5 separate regions of the Homo sapiens genome follow, and regions 2, 3, 4 and 5 are each linked to region 1. The links are contacts of gene promoters, found by promoter capture Hi-C in blood cells and fetal thymus (Javierre and others, 2016). All regions are on one chromosome and are shown on one strand. The core of a region is centred on a gene start or on the middle of the fragment in contact, and the rest is flanking DNA. Distances in the headings are between cores, read along the strand shown.

Region 1 (2,545 bases), core at 1-2,500:
ACCCTGAAATGGTGGAAGAATAAGGAAGAAGCCCATGTTGATGCTCAAAGTCCGCAGAGATAGAGGCAGAGCTGCAGGAGAGAAGGCACTCTAGGGCTGGCTCAAAGCCTGTTCACTCCTGCCGGTCTAGTCTCAGCTGGGTGGGGGTGGGGGTGGGGGGAGAAGCGAAGGTGAGGGCGGGAGGAGCACGTGAGGCTGGGGGTGGGGAAGACTACTCAGGTATGGAAGGGGGTCCCAGATCACTGCTCTGATGTCAAGAGACATGACCTCTCTTTTAATGTCAATGGTTACAGTGAACTTAATCCTGTCCTCTGCAGTTTTTCCTTACTTCGGAAGACAAATCAATCAATCCTACTGCCATCAGTTCACTTCCTGAAATTTGTTCCTAAACAGGGTCCTTCCCACAGTATTCTCCCACCCTATCAACATGCTCAGCTCACAGCATCATTGATTTTCTTGCCTCAAGGAGAGACCCATTTATCTCCTTCCTAGGGGTTGAGAGATGACAGCTTTTTGGGTCAGGTACCTCATCTTTCATTATTCACTCATATTATACCATAATTTTTTCCCCATCATCTCATTTCTCTACCAATCCCCAAGACCTACAGTACTTTTTCATCATAGTCAGACCAGGAGATTCAGGTTCTATATTTTTGTTTACTTTCTACATCCTCTGTTCAGTTTCATGTTGTAACTTCAAAGAGTGGAATCTCTGACCAGACTCAATTATAATAATTACCTTTTACTAAACAATTACTATGTCCTACATACCATAAAAAGAACTTTGCATGGTATTATCTCTTTTAAATCTCACAGTAACATAATGGAGTAAAAGCTATTGTGACATCTTTCTATATACAGGAAAAGCTAGACTTAAAAAGTTAGGTAATTTGTCCAAAGTCACACACTAGGAAATGACTGGGCAAGGAGTGGAGCCCAAGTCTGTCTGAAATCCCCATACTCAAGACTGCTTCCAAACCCCGGGCTAAGTCACACAAACCCCCCATAATTTGGACCTGAATTCTAGCTAGTTGCTTTAATACATAAGCAGGAAAAAATTTCCCCACCAAAATTCAAGGGTCTTTCCTAAACAGGTCATTAATCAATGCCTTCTCTTCAGGAGCCCTTGAAATAGCACATTTATCATGAATCCATGAAGGTGTTTTAAAAAAGTCTCCCAGAGATACTTACTGGATAGACATTTTCTTCCAGTTCAGGATCCAGAGTTCTGGCACCAACTGCAGAATGAAGAAGGAAGTTCTCAGCCAGGGGCCTTTTTATGCCTTCTAAATCCCTTAAAAGGAGTTATGGCTTTGGGAGCCCTTCCCCACCCCTTCAGCTGAGGGAGGGGGAACAGAAGTTGCTTTCAGCTCTCAGATCCCCCTGATGCTTGGCTTTATTTGGGCTTGCTGTTCCCATAACAGTTGTTTGGCTGTTTTCCAGAGACCTCAATCCTTCCCAAGGAGAATGAGAACAGATTAGAAAGAAAGGAGCTAGGTGGGAGTGGCCAGCGTCAGGCCTGAGCTGATCCCAGTCACCCCACTGGACCTTGGCACCATTCTCTGGGGCCCACCTCCCCCTAATACCTCTGTGCCTTCATTCTCACCCTCATTCATTAACTCACTTATTTTTAAAAATATCTATTACATACCACCTATGAACCAGACAGAGATGGGTATTGTCCCTGTCCCTGTCTTCACAGATCTTATAACTCTGTAAGAGTTATAGTAAACAAAGTATTCAACCATGTTTGATTAGTGCTAAGATTGGAGAAGTATAAAATGTTATGGAAGCACATTGTGCACCTCTAACCCTCTCTAGCAACCTTATTGATACCATTCAGTGCCAATATTCTTCCAACCAGGTTGAGGACTTTTGATTTGCTGAGAATGAAATTCTGCATATCTTTGCTTGTCACTAATGCCTGTCTGCTCTCTGCCTCACCTTCTTGTCCATTGGTATATGTTTGGCACTCTGAGAGTATACAGCATCAATTCATTCATATCTCCAATACTCTTTCATTAAGTCTCAGTTGCTTGCCAGCACAGACAAGGTACTGCCCAAAGAAGTCCTTGGAAAACAGGCAAGATATATACTATACCAGCTAACAACCTTAACATTTTTTTTGAGAAACTCATTAACAATTTTAAATTTAGTGTGCAGTTATGGCTACTTACCCTAGGGGTCTTCTTCAACAAAACTGTATAACAATTAATCCAAGTGCTTCCCAAGATATACAACAGTAGCTTCATTTCCTTACAGTGAGGGCATAGGCATGTGATGGGCTCCACCCGTTAGGGACAGTGGTAGAAGTCCTAATGGTAGCACCTGGGGCTTAGCATCCATAATATCTCTGCCCATCCAAGGCAGTTGTAGTGTCTCCATTCAACAGTGGAGCCCGGAATATTGTTACTGGCTGGGTAGCCTCCAAGCTCCATCCTTTAGCCATCCCAGAGATTGTTAGCTCTCTAATATTTACAATATTTGCGTTCTGCTTTATTAGAGTTAGTTCCATTATTTGCAGCTAAGAGCCCTATGCCTATAA
Region 2 (2,545 bases), core at 18-2,517, 1.3 Mb after region 1:
AAAGCTGTGTGATGATGGGAAATCTCTCGCACTTTTTGAGCCCATTTTCGAATTTGCTAGATGGGAATAAAACCTATTTCACGTACTTCGCAGGGCTGTTTAAGGATTTAATGATACAATGCGTGTGTGTGTCCTACTTTAAAGTATTCTAGACTGTATACCAAAATTAAATTTCTAAGCTTTAAATATTACAAGAATGCCTTCCAAGGGCACTGGATAAGCTGTTTTGTTTTGTTTTGTTTCTGCGTTTCTCTAGTGCAGTGCCTGGAGATGACCACCAAACGGAAAATCATCGGCCGTCTGGTGCCATGCCGATGTTTCCGAGGTGAAGAAGAAATCATCTCAGTTTTAGATTACTCCCACTGCAGTCTTCAGCAGGTGCCAAAGGAGGTCTTTAACTTCGAACGAACATTAGAGGAGCTTTATCTAGATGCCAATCAAATTGAAGAACTACCCAAGGTAACTTTTGACAACCTAAAATATACAATGTAAATGAGTATTTCATAATTTTCAAATACTTTATTATAATGGTAATGTGAACTATGGGCTCCTATCTAGGTAACTGACAAGTCATTGAAATTGATATAACTTCCCCCAATATTCTCATTACCTTTTAATGTTACTCCATTTATGATTTCACGGGCCTCTGTTAATAACAAATTGAGCTCTATGGAAACCACCATTTGATGGATTATGCCTCGTTATCTTCATTTAAAATGACCTCTATAAAAATATAGAGTAGAGGGTTGAGATCAATAGTTTATGTTTAGAAAGAAAGGAAAAATATGACACTACTCCAGAACTGAAAATTTCTATGTTGTATATTAAGGTGACATTATATTACAACCTTGAATTGTATGCTGTAAGTCTAAGAAATGCTTTTACACACATTAATGCTATTATGAAAAACATGTTTTTGTACCTGTATGTAAAATATTTGATTATTACAAGTAGCACTGGATGTATGTGGCATAAAACTAGTAAAAAGTTTACTAGGAATTTGAAACTATCAAACTTTGTGCACATACACACACACACACACACACACGTGCACACCTGCACACACACACACTGCCATTATGGCATTGTGCCATGCAAAGAAAACCAGGTCTCCTGTGACCTTAGTCCTTATTGCAGAAAAGACTGGATGATAAGAGATTAGCTAAAGCAGACCAAGACCACACAGCAGAGAAGTTCAAAATCTAAATCAAGGGATCCTAACAGTCACCTAAGTAAGTAACCCAGATTAAGTAGTTAGCATGGTATTTACCTGTGAAGGATTTATACGGCTGAGAAGGGAAAAAAACGTCATGCACTCAATTTCTGTTGCTTATGCTAAAAAGTAAAAATGTATATTAAATATGCAGTAATCAGAAAAAGAATCTTCCACAATAAAAACTTGAAATTAATTATCAGAATCTGATATTTCAATATGCTGATCAAAATAAATTATGAATAATTATTTTTATTTAAAGTTATAAATTATCATTTGCCGGCCTTTTGGCTAAGATCAAATGTAGAATTATAAATTGTGCTGTTTACATAACACTTCAAAGTTAAGAACTTTTTAACATGTACTTCAAAAACAATATACTTCATTTTTGACAATCTGTGTATTGTGTCATCTGGGATATTTCCTTAGATGACACTATACACAGGTATAGTGTATTTTTTAGAGGTAGGTCAGGCCTATAAAAAATATTATTGACTACATGGATTCACACTAGGATTGCACATCAACTAAAGCCTGGAGTGAAATAGACTGTCTGTTGTACCAGATGAGGAACTACTTAAGGGCAAAGATGGCACCGTATTCATCTCTGTTTCCTGGTACATGGGCAGGCATGATGAATTTCACATAATAGATACTGAGTCTCTGTTGTCCCTGACTGAGAGAACAATGCAGAGAACTTCATATGCCACAGGACTTGATTAGCAAAAGTATATAAGTTTGCATAAGTCATAAATGTGGTAACCCATTCTAATTTAGGAAAATAGGCATGGGGGGTGGCGGGTTTCTAGGTCAGGCCAATCTAGGATTGCCAGAAAGAAATAGAGGACACCCAGTTATATTTTACTTTTAAATTCAGAAACAGACAACATTTTTGTAAAATTATGTCCCAAATTTTGTATGGGATACATTTACACTAAAAAAATTTTTTTTATTTACATGATGTTCAAATTTAACTTATCATCCTGTATTTTTATTTGCTAAATCTAGCAACCCTAGGCCAATCTGGTCATTTTAAATCTTTTTCCATTTCTATGCAACAAATTTTGTAAGATAGGTAGTAAAAACATGGTTAATTTATCAAGCAAGTATTTATTTAATATCCATTCTACTACACAGTACTTGAAGCTTTAGGGAGGTTACAAGAGAAATAAATCTCGATCTCTGCCCTTCCGGATCTGACAACCTAATTACAGAGAAAAACTGAAGCATTAGAGGCAAGTGCTCGGTGATGTATAATCGGAGCCAAAGAGCCAAGTACCATTGTAGAGCGTATGTATAGAGAAGAGCTCCATTTTTGGAGAAGTAAGGGAA
Region 3 (2,545 bases), core at 24-2,523, 1.3 Mb after region 1:
CATTTTTCCCTCCTAGGCCTTCAGGCCTGTGATGAGAGGGGCTGCCATGAGGGTCTCTGACATCCCTGGAGACATTTTCCCCATTGTCTTGGTGATTAGTATTTGGCATCTGGTTACTTATGTAAATTTCTGCAGTGGGCTTGAATGTCTTTCCAGAAAATGGGTTTTTCTTTTTTACAGCGTTGTCAGGCTGCAAATTTTTTAAACTTTTATTCCCTGCTTCCTCTTAAGTGCTTTGCTGCATAGAAATTTCTTCCATCAGATACCCTAAATCATCCCTCTCAAGTTCAAAGTTCCACAGATCTCAAGGGCAGGGACAAAATGCCACCAGTCTCTTTGCTTAGCAAGAGTGACTTTTACTCCAGTTTCCAAGTTCCTCATCTCCATCTGAGACCACCTCATCCTGCACTTTATTGTCCATATCACTATTAACATTTTGGTCAAAGCCATTCAAGTTTCTAGGCAACTCCAAACTTTTCCACATCTTCCTTTCTTCTGAGTCCTCCAAGTCTCTAGGAAGCTCCAAACTTTTCCACATTTTCCTATCTTCTTCTGAACGCTTCCAACTGTCCCAACCTCTGCCTATTACCAGTTCCAAAGTAGCTTCCACATTTTCAGCTATCTTTAGAGCAGCTCCCCACTACCTGGTGCCAATTTACTGTATTAGTCTGTTCTCATACTACTAATAAAGATATACCTGAGACTAGGTAATTTATAAAGGAAAGAGCTTTAATTGACTCACAATTCAGGGCTCAGGAGGCCTCAGAAAACTTACAATCATAACAGAAGGGGAATCAAGAATATCTATCTTCACATGGCGGCAGCAAGCAGTGCCGAGAAAAAGGGGAAAAAGCTCCTTATAAAACCATGAGATCTCGGCCGGGTGCAGTGGCTCACACCTGTAATCCCAGCACCTTGGGAGGCTGAGGTGGGCGGATCATGAAGTCAGGAGATAGAGACCATCTTATGCTAATGCAGTGAAACCCCATCTCTACTAAAAATACAAAAAAATAGCCGGATGTGGTGGCGGGCGTCTGTAGTCCCAGCTACTCGGGAGGCTGAGGCTAGAGAATGGTGTGAACCTGGGAGGCTGAGCTTGCAGTGAGCCAAGATCACGCCACTGCACTCCAGCAAGACTCCATTACCCCCACCCCCAAAAAAACCATGAGACCTCATGAGAACTCACTCACTATTACAAGAACAGCAGCATGTGGGTAACTGCCCCCATGATTCAATTACCTCCCACCAGGTTCCTCCCACAATATGTGGGGATTATGGGAACTACAATTCAAGATAAGATTTGGGTGGAGATATAGCCCAACCATATCAAGTATAAACTTACTATTGTTTTACCAAAATGTGGAAGAAACACAAGAAAATGTGCTTATTTGGAGGATGCTAACAGGAAATAAACTGTTCCTAACTTAGCCCTCTGAAAAAGAGAATGATAAATGTATTTAGACATCCTCTTCAAAGGTAACTTTTTGTTTGCATTGTACATTTGAAAGGTGTTCACTTTGCTATTGCAGAACCAATTTGAAAAACATTATCTGGGACAAAATGTTCAATGTCCAAAGTATTAAAAGGTGTCTCCATCTATGAAAGTTAGCAAATCTATACAAGGATTCTCTATTGATGAATTTTGAAAGAGGGAGAATATCATTAGATGTTCTGGGCAGTTTATAAGCACTTATGAAATAGGAGCTACATTATTACAAGATCTTGCTTATTATTAGTGAGAAGTTATCTGGGTACTTCCAAGTAAAATGTGAAAATGTCCTCTCTACTGTCCCTAAATTTTCCCCTTATAGAACAAAAATAACATGTTTATTGCTAACTAGTTAATATATTTAAAATACTAGACAAAGTGTTTTGCTTGATTTCTTTTATACCAATGGAACGATTATTTGAGCCATTCAGTGCCTAGAACATGAAATAAAAAAGGAAAACAGACTCTCGATTAAAAAAAGTATTACATGTTACAAAAGTAATTCCAATTTAGTAGTAATAATAATTAGCTAGTTTTTAAAATACTGACTTTATTTAAAAATGTCTGGAAGATAACTTCAAGAAAAAGCTAAATATTTTTTTAAATAAAGGAAATACTTAATACTAGGGCAAAAAAAGATTTTTTAAAGGTTGTTTAGAATTTTTTAAAGTTCGATAGATTTACACAATCTAATGAAAAATAGGGAAAAAAAATACATACAGCTAATTGCTCAAGGAAAGATGAACACTGTTATGACTAAAATATGCAGTCAGTGAGAAATTCCAAAAGCTCTGGTCAGGTTTTAAAAAAGTCCCTGAAAACTTAGAAATAAAGGATCCAATAGTTTTCCCAAATTCACAGAACTTTAAAAGAGCAATTATTTAAAGGCCAGTATGTTAACATTCTGTTGCAAGAGAATTTTTTTTAAGTTTCATATGGACAAGCAGGGACAATAATCTAGAAAGATTAGATTTAAGTAAATATAATAATAAAGTCCCATACTGAAGAAAACAGAATTCTTCAATCCTCAATTGGGCTTTATATATACTTGCAATA
Region 4 (2,545 bases), core at 30-2,529, 1.3 Mb after region 1:
GGCAGAGGAGATAAGATTTAATGATGCAGGAAATAGACAATAATTGAGTTTCTGAGGCAGGAAGCAGGAACACAGCATGGTGTCATTATCACAGTGTGGTAGAGTATGGGATTTATGTCAGACTTTCCTGTATTGGAATTCTGTCCCCACCAGTATGGCCACAGCTTCCCACCCATTAACGAAGAACACACTACCTATGTCATAGAGATGTTTTTATTCATTGATTCAACAAATCTCAAGTGGTTCCTACTTTGTATTTGATGTTGATGAATAAAATAAATTCGGTTCTGGGCCTTATGATGCTCACAGTCTAATGACAAATACAGAAAATATACAAAAAAGGATAAAATTACCAGTAAACAATTGTGATAAGGAATCAGAAGGAAAGAAACAAGTTTTAGAGTGTGGTAGGATGTGTCTTTAAGTTGAGCAATAAGGGAATTAAGGGTCTAAAATGATGATGATTAATGAGGAATAAATAAAAAAAAGTTTCTGTAGCTGTTGAGAATCCTCCCATGTCCATTTGATCCTTGTTATTCCAGTCATGCCATGGCATGTAAGTGCAGACACTGTCATATCTGCCTGAGAACAGTCTTTCGGCTTGTGTTCAATGCAGCCTGTAAGTACAGAGGAGAGAATGCCCCCAGATGCAGCCTTCCATTATTGACAGATGGGAGTAGAAGAATAAATAGCCAACCCTCTTCATCCCTCTGCTGAGTCACCCTGAGGCATATTCCACAGTGTCTGTCAGCATCTGCCCGCAGAATAGAGCCTCAGTTACCCAGATTGGTAATCTGCTTTATTACGCGCCAATTTCTGGCTTCCTTTCCTTCCCTGTTTTATTTCTTTACTCTTTTATTGGTGTTTCCTGGTATTCCCTCCCAAAAAAATTATTTATTCTCAACTCTGTCTCAGGCAGTCTGAGGCAGGGGAAACCAACCTGATAAAGATATAATCTCTAATCACCTAAGATAATATCTAGAATAAAATATGCATTCAGTAAATGCTAATTTTCCTTTTCCTCACTCTTGTTTCCTTGCCCCCAAGTCAAACATGCATAATAAAAATGTTTTAGAAAGTCATCTCTAGACTAGATTATAGTCTTGGAGGTAGGTAAAGTTAGAGTCATAGAGACTTGTGAGGAAGCAGACTCTTGCTTTAGAACTAATGAAGTGCAATAAAGACCCAGACAGACCAAGGTGAGATGCAGATTTCATTTTGTTATAATGGTCAGTTTATGACTCCTCTGTATCCTTCACTGCACATTATATACTCTGCTGGACCACATGGTTCTAACGGGTGGTATAAGAGAGTACTCATTTTGCAAAGAAACCCTTGAGTATCCTTTATATACACTATTAGGCTAACAAAAGTAGGCTGAGAGATCAGTCATGTTCAGTAAAATTGGTCAGAGCTTCACCAGTCCTTCTGCCTTATCTGGCATTCTTAGAAGTACCAAGTGGAAATGTAGAAGGGCCTCTGATGTCCATCAGCACCCTTAAAGCCACAATATATACGTATGACACATAAAACCTAAGTAAAAACAATGTGTTTGCTATATATATAAGTGAATTTTCAAGTCAAGTATTTCTGTCTTCTCTTCCAATTCATTTCCCACCTTTAAGCTATCCTTCAACAGTCCCTATTGGATGTTGTAAAATTTAAAAATTAATTTCCTACCACAGTCTACAAGGACTGATCTCCCCCATCTATTACTGAAACCCCCTCCTTCATGCTTATTAGGCTTAGGCATACTGACCATCGAGTTCCTTAAAATATACCACATACCTTAGTGCCTTTTTGAACGTTGTTTCTTCTCCCAGAATTTTCTTCCTTTAGGTGTTCACTAAACTGTTACCACCTCATTGAGGTCTTTATCTGAGAAGATATGTCAGTTAGTTATTAGTGTAATAGTGTGTATATCAATAACAAAATTTCTGTGGTATGCAATTCTAAACATCTATTTAGGCCAAATGTGTGAGCATTGGTTGGGGGCCTGATGGTAAGGATAGACTTCACTCAGTGGTTGTGCTGATCTCATATGGGCATGTTCATGTCTGGAGGTCAGCTGATCTAAGGAGTCTCTGTTGGTACAACTCTGCTCCATATGTCGCTCATATTCCTCCTAGGGCCAGTGGGCTAACCTGGACAGGTTTCTTTTATAGCCTTTATGTGTGGCAGAAATGGAACAATGTGAGCAGAAACACACAAGACCTTTTAAGGGATAAATTGAGAACCGGTCCACCATTACTTCCACCTATTTTATTGACTAAAGCAAGTCACAAAGCCAAACCCAACCAACATCACTGGTATATTCCTTCTATGAAAATAAGGGAGGGATTAAATATTTCTGAAATATTATCCGATCTACTACAAAAAGGCTTCCCTGTTACTTCAGTTCAGAGCACTCAGATTGTTCCCTTCAAAGCAATTGTATTTTCTGTAACTATTTGATTAGTGTCTGTCTTGCTCATGAAACTTTGTATTAGACAGGAAAGAATAGACTATGCAGTGGTAAGAAATTAAACTCCAAAATTAAACTCCA
Region 5 (2,545 bases), core at 29-2,528, 1.2 Mb after region 1:
GAGAAAGGGAGAAAAAGAGAGTTGGAAGGAAGGTGAAAGAAGGGGAGGGAAGGCCAAGCTTTTGATTCTGGAACAGATGGCATAGACTCACCTTTCCTGATACTCAATTCTAAATGAAGCTAAACACTCTGGAAAAATTCTTCAACAGACCATTTTGAAAGGACTCTGAAAGCTTCAGAGAAGAAGGCAAACTGACTAGGACAACAGGACTTGAAGAAAGACATCATGGTATGCTTCTTGCATTTTCTTTTTATCTCCTATACATCCCTGGACTGCATACCAGAGAGGCTTGCAATCTGGTACTGTCAACAGGCATGAAGAAAAGAAGGAAAAAAAAAGCAAAGCCTACTCGCTCAGTCCAGAGGACCAAGAGAGAGAAAAACAACAGAGGTTTGGAAGAGAGCCACCGATATCTTATTCTATAATCCCAATCGACAGGCAGTTCAATTCACCTGCAGAAACAGAACAGTAAGGCCCCAGGCCATCCCTGCTCTGCTCTCCCTGGTGGGCAGACCTATCTGGTGGTAATGGTGGCAGCAGTAAAGCCCTGTGTCTTCCTATCTTTCACCCAGTGTCATAAAGAGACCCAGGCTCAGTGGCTTCTGTGCCTTCCCAGAGGTTTACCTAGGAATATTAGAGAATCCAGAGCAGCACTTTTAACTCTAGCGGATGACACCAGCAGAGTTTTAGCAGAAGCCCCGACAGTGCCAGAAGAATGAAGCAGACCAGATCAGCATTAGCATTATAAAAAATCAGAACACTAACTGCCATTGGAACTAAAGCCCACAAAATTAGTCCAAAACCTATAAGCTAAACCTAAACAGGATACATACCTGCTAAAATAAAAGGTTTCAATAGGGTTAAAAGTCTCCTAACATAATAATCAAAATATTCAAAATGCAGTTGACTGTAACCCATCATACCATGAACCAGAAAAACCACAGTCTGACAAAAGACAATCCACTGACCCCAATACTAAGACAAATTAGATAATGGAATTTCTGAGAAGGAGACTGAAGCATCCATCATAAGAATGCTTCAGGAGACAATTATATAATCTCTTGAAACAAGTGAAGAAAAACAGAAAATCTCAGGGGAAAAAAAAGAAGTTATAAAAAAGAACCAAATGGAAATTATGTAACTGAAAACCAAAATTACCAAAATAAAAATATCACTTAATTGAATCAATAGTAGAGTGAAAATTACAGAAAAGAGATTAAATGAATATGTAGATTAGTGGAATTTACTCAATATGAACAACAAGGAGAATATACACTAAACAAAAATGAACAGAACCTCAGGGATTTGTGGAAAAATAATAACATATATAATATTTGTATCATCAGAGTCCCAGGAGAGGAGAAGGAGTATGGGACAGAAAAAGTATTTGAAGAAGTAATGGTTGCAAACTTCTAAAAGTTGACAAAAGACGTAAATCTAGATATTCAAGAAGCTGGGTCAACTCCAAAGAAGATAAACCAAAAAAAAAAAATCCACAACAGGACATTTCATAATTAAACTTGTGAGAACCAAAGATAAAGAAAAATATTTAAAACAGCCAGAGTGCAATAACACATTACATATAAAGGAACAGAAATAACACATTACATATAAAGAAGCATCAATTAAAATGACAGTATATTTTCATCTGAAACCACAGAGGCCAGAAGGAAATGACATACAAGATTTTCAAGTATTATAAGAATTGTCAACTCTGAATCCTATATCCAACTAAACCATCCTTCAGCAATGAAGGAGAAATAAAATCACTCTCAGCAGAAAGAAAACTGAGAGAATTTGTTGCTAACAAACCTTCCCCAACACAATGGCTACACAGAACTCTCCAAACACAAAGGAAAAGTTTAACAAAAGAAGACTTGTACCTTCAGGAAGTAAAGAACAGTAGAATGAATAAAAACAGAAGTATGAATAATAGAATTTTCTTTACCTTATGTTTCATGGTTGAAGCAAAAACTATAATACCATCTGATGTGGTGCACATGTATGTAGATGAAATAAGTCAATTAATATTTAAAAAGTGGAAAGGGTAAAGGGACCTAAATTGATATAAGGTTTCTCTACTTCACTTGAAATGGTATAACACTGATACCAGTAGACTGTGATAAGTTACGTATATTGTAATACCTAGAGCAACCACTAAGAAGACTACAAAATAATACACTCAAAAACATTATAAGTAAATCAAAGGTGAACTAAATATACTCATGTAACCTAGAGGATGTGAAGGAAAAAGAAACATAGAAACAAGAAACCAAGAGAACAGAACAGAAAACAAATAATAAAATTAGATGTATTAGACTTAAGTCCTAATACATCAATAATTACATTAAGTGTAAATGGTGTAAATACCATGGTTAAAAGACAAAGCTTGTCAGATTAGATAAAAAAGAAAGACCAACTATATGTTGCTTATAAAAATGTCCTTTAGATGCAAAAATAAAAAAAAGGTTAAATATAAAGGGATAGAAAAAGAAATACCATGCTAAATTATTTAAATGAAAGCTAGAGTGACTATATTAATATC

What was found. The method cuts DNA at HindIII sites, captures the fragments that hold promoters and counts their contacts. A CHiCAGO score of 5 or more calls a contact.
Region 2: a fragment that was not itself captured here is called in contact with the fragment with the promoter of RPE65 in region 1 in 1 of 17 cell types (M2 macrophages); the score reaches 5.9 in M2 macrophages.
Region 3: a contact is called between a fragment that was not itself captured here and the fragment with the promoter of RPE65 in region 1, in 7 of 17 cell types (M2 macrophages, M0 macrophages, M1 macrophages and 4 more). The highest score is 17.7, in M2 macrophages.
Region 4: a fragment that was not itself captured here is called in contact with the fragment with the promoter of RPE65 in region 1 in 2 of 17 cell types (M2 macrophages and endothelial precursors); the score reaches 6.8 in M2 macrophages.
Region 5: a fragment that was not itself captured here is called in contact with the fragment with the promoter of RPE65 in region 1 in 1 of 17 cell types (M2 macrophages); the score reaches 5.0 in M2 macrophages.

Annotation. Positions count from the first base shown.
Region 1 is chr1:68,448,704-68,451,248 of GRCh38, forward strand. RPE65 (retinoid isomerohydrolase RPE65) reads right to left here and starts at 1,251. Exons shown (of 14, transcript NM_000329.3): 1 at 1,192-1,251; 2 at 1-3. The coding sequence starts at 1,202. LOC124904198 (a long non-coding RNA gene) reads left to right here. Exons shown (of 2, transcript XR_007066164.1): 2 at 1-2,545. The HindIII fragment of the contact is 10,150 bases long and covers 1-2,545 here.
Region 2 is chr1:69,759,935-69,762,479 of GRCh38, forward strand. It overlaps LRRC7 (leucine rich repeat containing 7), which reads left to right. Exons shown (of 27, transcript NM_001370785.2): 3 at 257-459. It overlaps LOC124904199 (a long non-coding RNA gene), which reads right to left and starts at 874. Exons shown (of 2, transcript XR_007066167.1): 1 at 611-874. The HindIII fragment of the contact is 2,180 bases long and covers 178-2,357 here.
Region 3 is chr1:69,730,143-69,732,687 of GRCh38, forward strand. All of the region lies in intron 2 of LRRC7 (leucine rich repeat containing 7), which reads left to right. Among named protein-coding and RNA genes, the nearest start is that of LRRC7, 160 kb to the left of the region's middle. The HindIII fragment of the contact is 3,762 bases long and covers 1-2,545 here.
Region 4 is chr1:69,706,644-69,709,188 of GRCh38, forward strand. The region is part of intron 2 of LRRC7 (leucine rich repeat containing 7); the gene reads left to right. Among named protein-coding and RNA genes, the nearest start is that of LRRC7, 140 kb to the left of the region's middle. The HindIII fragment of the contact is 5,159 bases long and covers 1-2,545 here.
Region 5 is chr1:69,684,420-69,686,964 of GRCh38, forward strand. All of the region lies in intron 2 of LRRC7 (leucine rich repeat containing 7), which reads left to right. Among named protein-coding and RNA genes, the nearest start is that of LRRC7, 120 kb to the left of the region's middle. The HindIII fragment of the contact is 2,216 bases long and covers 171-2,386 here.